Linked DNA regions of Homo sapiens: region 1 is linked to region 2. Evidence: promoter capture Hi-C in human tissues and cell types (Jung and others, 2019). All regions are on one chromosome and are shown on one strand. Each heading gives the region's core, a stretch centred on a gene start or on the middle of the fragment in contact. The rest is flanking DNA. Distances are from core to core; before and after follow the strand shown.

What was found. Contacts are between HindIII fragments. The study calls those that stand out against the background at their distance.
Region 1: the fragment with the promoter of OR1L4 here is called in contact with the fragment with the promoter of OR1L1 in region 2 in 1 of the 25 tissues and cell types used here (mesendoderm cells).

What each region holds. Positions count from the first base shown.
Region 1 is chr9:122,722,235-122,725,262 of GRCh38, reverse strand. OR1L4 (olfactory receptor family 1 subfamily L member 4) reads right to left here and starts at 1,273. Exons shown (of 1, transcript NM_001005235.1): 1 at 338-1,273. The coding sequence starts at 1,273. The coding sequence ends at 338. The HindIII fragment of the contact is 15,967 bases long and covers 1-3,028 here.
Region 2 is chr9:122,660,042-122,663,258 of GRCh38, reverse strand. OR1L1 (olfactory receptor family 1 subfamily L member 1) reads right to left here and starts at 1,543. Exons shown (of 1, transcript NM_001005236.3): 1 at 611-1,543. The coding sequence starts at 1,543. The coding sequence ends at 611. The HindIII fragment of the contact is 8,013 bases long and covers 1-3,217 here.

The DNA of each region.
Region 1 (3,028 bases), core at 24-2,523, 62 kb before region 2:
TTAGGAGAAATACCTAATGTAGATGACAGGTTGATGGGTGCAGCAAACCACCATGGCACGTGTATACCTATGTAATGAACCTGCACGTTCTGCACATGTATCCCAGAACTTAAAGTATGTGTGTATATATATATGTGTGTGTGTGTATACATATATATATATATATATATAAAGAAACTGAGTGTTTTGCTCCCAGGTTAATTCTCTTACTGATATCCAACACCACTTTTCATGACCTCTTTGAATGCCATGTGGAAAAGGGTTAGGAAGGGAGGATAAACTGATAATAATCTTTTAGGTCATGTCCTGATTTTGACATGCCAACATTTTGTTCTTTCTATGAGTAAATTCTGTGTCTTAATTTCTTCAAACCCCTTTTCATATCTTTGTTCCTCAGGCTGTAGATGAAAGGGTTCAGCATGGGTGTCACTACTGTGTACATAACTGTGGCTACCCGGCCCTTCATCACTGAGTACATGGACAGAGGCCTAAAATAGACATAGATGACACTCCCATAGAACAGGACCACTACAGTGAGGTGGGAGCCACAGGTAGAGAAGGCCTTCCACTTCCCGGCTGCAGAGGGGATTCTGAGCACAGTGACGATGATTTGCAGGTAGGAGAAGATGGTACACAGGAAGGGGGTCACAATGACAGCTAAGGTCTCAGTCATCACCACCATCTGGCTGGAGGATGTGTCAGAGCAGGAGAGCTTTAGCACAGGCTGGGTGTCACAGAAAAAGTGCTTAATGATGTGAGAGGCACAGAAAGACAAGCGAGACATAAGTAGCACGCGGAACAGGGAATGTAGGTGGGAGATGCTGCAAGAACCCAATAGCATGAGTAGGCAATGCCATGGTTTCATAACCACATCATAGTGTAAGGGGTTGCAGATGGCCACCAGCCGGTCGATGGCCATAGAGGCCAGCAGGTAGCTGTCAGTGTTCCCAAATGCCATGAAGAAGTACATCTGGATCAGGCAGCCCACATAAGAGATAATCTTTGTCTCTGATAGAAAATTCACCAGCATCTTAGGCACTATGACTGTTGTGAAGCAGATATCCATGAAAGACAAGTTGCTGAGAAAAAAGTACATAGGGGTGTGGAGCCTGGGGTCAGAGTAGATGGCCAGGATGATGAGCACATTCCCCACCGCAGTGAGTAGGTACATGATGAGGAAGATGGCAAAGAGAGGTTTCTGCAGCTTAGGGTTGGAAGAGAGGCCCAGGAGGATGAAGCCTGAGGTGCTGCTGCTATAATTCTTTGTCTCCATGTCTCTGGACTTCCTGGATAGGGTTTAGAGAAGCAATGGGAGAGATGTAAAGGACAGTTTGACCAAGACAGCTTCTTCCCCACCTCAAATCTATTTTAAAAATCTTACTGCTATTATACTTCGAAAGAACATTTAATTCTGAAACTACATAGAAACAGATAGTAAAATTCAACAAAAGAAAAGTTAAAGGATGCCAAGCTGTCTTCTAAATTAGAAACTAAAGGTTTTCCATGTGCTCATAGGAACTTCTATGTGGCCTAATTTGTTTGAGTTCTTCTCATTTCCTTTTGTAAAGATTATTCTGAGGTTGTTTCTTGACCATCTCCTTAGTCTTATTATTGTCTTTTTTGTCCCGGGGAAGAGGTTGCTGGATTCTACTTAGAATTAGAATGCTGTCATACAAGGAATCCCTATGAATGAAGTTATCTCTTTCAGCATTCTCTCTTGCTCATAGGTCCATAGATGGTAGTAGTAGTTGGGATAGAACAAAACTAAGCAACAGAATTAATCAAGGCTCCTTGGTAATTGCAGAATTCAGATAATACTTTCTTTCATCTTCAGAAAAACATTTCTAATGTTTATTTAAGCATTTCTCTTTGGCTAATATGATCTGATGCTTTATCATCTTTTGGCCCAAGGATACCAGTTAAAATTAGAGTACTCCCAGAAATAGCCTATGTAAGCAAGATTAGTTCTTTGAATATATTAATTTTTCTGGTTAAAACACTATGAAGTCCTCATTCTCAACATTCAAATATTGCAGGACTATAAAACATAGACTGTAAGAGTCCTATTTCCACCAATATCATGGAAAGAGAAGGCAAAGATAGCCCTATGACCAATATTAAGCTACATTGCTGAGATGGTTGACTGAGTGAGTAACAAAGCAAAACTAAAGCATCAGGAGGCATAAACATTAAAAAAGAAGAAAATGTCATTTTTTTGTGGCACGATTGTGTACCAAAAAATTCAAGATAATTATTTGAAAATCTTTTAAAACCTATGGCAATTTCACCAGTGGCCAGATGCGCTATAAAACTAAAAGTATTAATTATCTTTCTGTATTAGACAAATGTAATGAAGAAAAGGTTTCAATTGATAATGGCAAGAAAGTCTAAGTGATACTTAGAAATTAACCTGAGGGACAAAATAAAAGAATGAGTAAGACCTATCAGAAGAAACTATAATAGAACACAAAATGAATATCTGAATATGTGGAGAACTATACTCCTGAAAAGGAAGACTATATTTTAAAATATGAATCCTTATTAATAAAATTCAGTGTACTTCTAATAAGACCTGAAGGGAATTTTTAATGGAAGTTGAAAAGATTATTCTAAAATTCATCTAGAGTATTACATGGCTAGAGACAGACAACATTATTTTGGAAACATTAGAATAATGATGGGAAACTTTTTTAACCCCACATAAAAGCACAGTATATTGATAATCAATAAGATAATGACACACATAGGGAAAAATAAAAAACTGACCAATATAAAGCATTTTGTATATCTATATGCCTATATTTAGATCATGATCTATATTAAACTTAACATATAATAAAGATTTATTTCATAGCAATGGAAAAAGAATGGGCTATAAAATAAATGCTATTTATGACAACTGGAACATTTGGGAAAAAATAAGCCTAAACTTCTTTGTAACTCACAAATAAAAATAAGTTATCAGATTGGCACTACATTTTTGGGGATCATATCCAAAGGAAAATAGACCTTCACATATGCTGAAAGT
Region 2 (3,217 bases), core at 294-2,793:
TGAAATTAATGAGAGATTTAAGGTACAGTCAGCTTTGCCAGGTGGGAAGCAGGAAGAATACTGAGATGCCATACTCTTAGGAACCTGACCTGGCACTGATTCACTAAGAGTTATCTAGTGGGATGATTTTATTTGTTGAGACTATGACAACTATAGAAGCCAGGCTTTAATCTTTGAGGAAATGCAGAGGAAGGAGTCACAGTTCTGACATTTATAATGGGAGAAAGAGAGAGACCTCGTTATTGAGGAGCCCCTGGGCTAATATGATGAAGCGACACACACACACATACACACACACATGCACACACGCACGCACACACACACAGAGTAGCTCAAAGACATTCAAGCAGCTTTACATTACTATACAAGAAAACCCAGCTGCATGAATAGGGATACTCAGGAGATTACAGTGATCCAACTTAGTTTGTAGGCATTATATTCAGGAGTAGCTTCAATACATGCAATAAACATTCTTCTGTAAGGAATGAAACACCATCATTGAAGGTACTATCCTTTCAGAATCTAATAATCATTTCAGAATCACATACCCATTAATAACCTATAGTCCAGGGCAAGAGATCTGTGGTATTCTCTTAAGACCTTAGGTCTTTTACTGACATTTCATCCTGTGCATCAACTTTGCCAAACCCTGCTTCATGTCTTTGTTCCTCAGACTATAGATAAATGGATTTAGCATAGGAGTCAGTACGGTGTAGATAATTGTTGCTATTTGATCCTTGACAGTATAGTTGGACAGGGGCTGAAAATAGAGATAGCTAATGCTTCCATAAAACAGGGTCACCACTGTGAGATGAGAGCCACAGGTAGAAAATGCTTTACGCTTTCCAGCAGCTGAAGGAATCTTCAGAACAGTGATGAGGATTCTTAAATAAGAGATGATGATGCATGAAAACGGGGTCATTATGACAGCCAAGCCTTCTGTCATTACTGTGATTTCTTTGACAAAATGGGAGGAACAGGACAATTTTAGCACTGGTTGATCATCGCAGAAAAAGTGATGGATGACATTTGAGGCACAGAAGATGAGCTGATTAGTCAGAAGAATGTGCAGGAGGGAGTGAAAATGTGGAATGCAGAAGGAGAGAACCAGAAGCAGGACACAGCATCTGTGACTCATAATGGTGATGTAGTGGAAGGGATTACATATGGCCACATAGCGGTCAATGGCCATGGCTGCTAGCAGGTAACTGTCTGTGTTTCCAAAGGCTAAGAAAAAGTACATCTGGGTCAGACACTCACTGTAAGAGATGGTCTTTGTCTCTGATAAGAAGTTCACCAGCATCTTAGGGATAATGACTGTCACATAGCAAATGTCAACAAAAGACAGGATGCTTAGAAAGAAGTACATGGGCGTCTGGAGACGAGTGTCTGAGCGGATGGCCAGGATGATAAGCAGGTTTCCTATCACTGTGATAAGGTAGATGGGGAGGAACACAGCAAAGAGCGGCTTCTGATCCTCAGGTCGAGAGGAGAGTCCAAGGAGGATGAATTCAGAGGGTCTTGTTAGGTTATTTCTTCCCATAGTTGTGGGTTCACCTAAAGATAAACTAACACTGTAACAGATTCTTCCAACATCTGATACAATCTGTCCAAAATTTCTCCTTTTATTCTTCTTATCAGCAAAGAAAAAATTTAAAACATTACAATTATCTGGATTGTGGTTTCTTTCCATTAATGTGGGATATTTAGAAATTAATATATATTTTAATCTCAGTTGCCTGCTATAAAGAAACAAATTACAGGGAAACAGAAATGGGAAAAAGAGAAAAGAAGAGATATAGGGCAAGAGGAAGGAGTGAGTGCAAGAGAATTCCCAGAAGGAGAGGAGGGGAATCCTGGAGAAATTATTCTCTTCTTTTTCTGTATATATTTATCGTATTCACGGTTTTCAGTAATTAGTTTATGACAGGTTTAAAAAAGTTTCATCTCTCAATTTCCAGCTGATGGAATAATGATTTCCCTTAGTTCGGATACTTCTGTCTGCATCAGTTATTCTGGAGGCTGGCAATCATGTAAAAAGACATTGAAATATGAGATTACCCAACAGTTACTCCATTTCCCTCATTTTTTAGTGAAACCTTATTTGAGTGAAAGGATAGGTATGAAGAGGCAAAAGATAGACAGAAATAACAGGATAGTAAAAACATTTCTTTTCCTTATTTTTTTTTTTTTGAGACAAGGTCTTGCTTTGTCACCCAGGCTGGAGTGCAGTGGCACAATCTTAGCTCACTGCAACCTCTGCCTCCTGGGTTCAAGCGATTCTCCCCCCTTAGCCTCCTGAGTAGCTGGGATTACAGGCTTGTGCCACCACACCCAGCTAATTTTTGTATTTTTAGTAGAGATGGGGTTTCACCATGTTGGCCAGGCTGGTCACGAACTCCTGATCTCAAGTGATCCGCCCACCTTGGCCTTCCAAAGTGGTGGGATTACAGGCATTAGTCACCGCACCCGGCCAACATTTCTTTTAATGTAACATAAACCTCATTTTTGTTATCCAGCCCCTAAATGCTAAAATCGTCATTGTTAGTGCATGCTTGTCTGTGTTGGTGTAATTCTTTTCCCAATTCCAGTCTCAGTTATATATATGCTTCCCCAAAAAACCACACAGAGAAGGCACCTGATTCTAGACAAGCTTTCAACCCTCATGAAGCTGAAGATTTTCCTCTCTTCCTCCTCTGGGCCTCCCACATGCTGAAGAGATTAAAGACACTCATAGACCCCACCCTCTGTCAAGGGAGCATCCTTTGAGATCATCAAGAAGTCCCTGGAGTTCAGATGGAGAAGACAGCAGAAAACAAGCCAAGAACTATTACGGTTTTGGAGTTTCTTCCCCAAGGAGCCTGGGGAGTGTCAGTGCCTTCTCTCTCTCTCAGAAATCACCCTCCTGACCTAACTCCTTTTGGTGAAAAAGACCCCACCTGTGTGAGGCTGGCTCAAGTGACAGACTTCCTGAGCCTCACCGCTGTGCTGCTTACATTGAAAGACAGAATGTGGGGTTGGAGAACGTTTTCTCGGAATTCGTTGATCATCAAGCTAAAACAACTAGAACATCTTATGCCACTAGTCACTTTCCCATCTCCCAGTGTTAGAAGCAGTCCCTTGCTAGACACTGTTCTTAGAACTTTAAAATATAATAAGCAATAGGGTTAAGACTTTAGACCCTAGGCCTGGAATCTTTACTCTTCTGTCTGAAGCA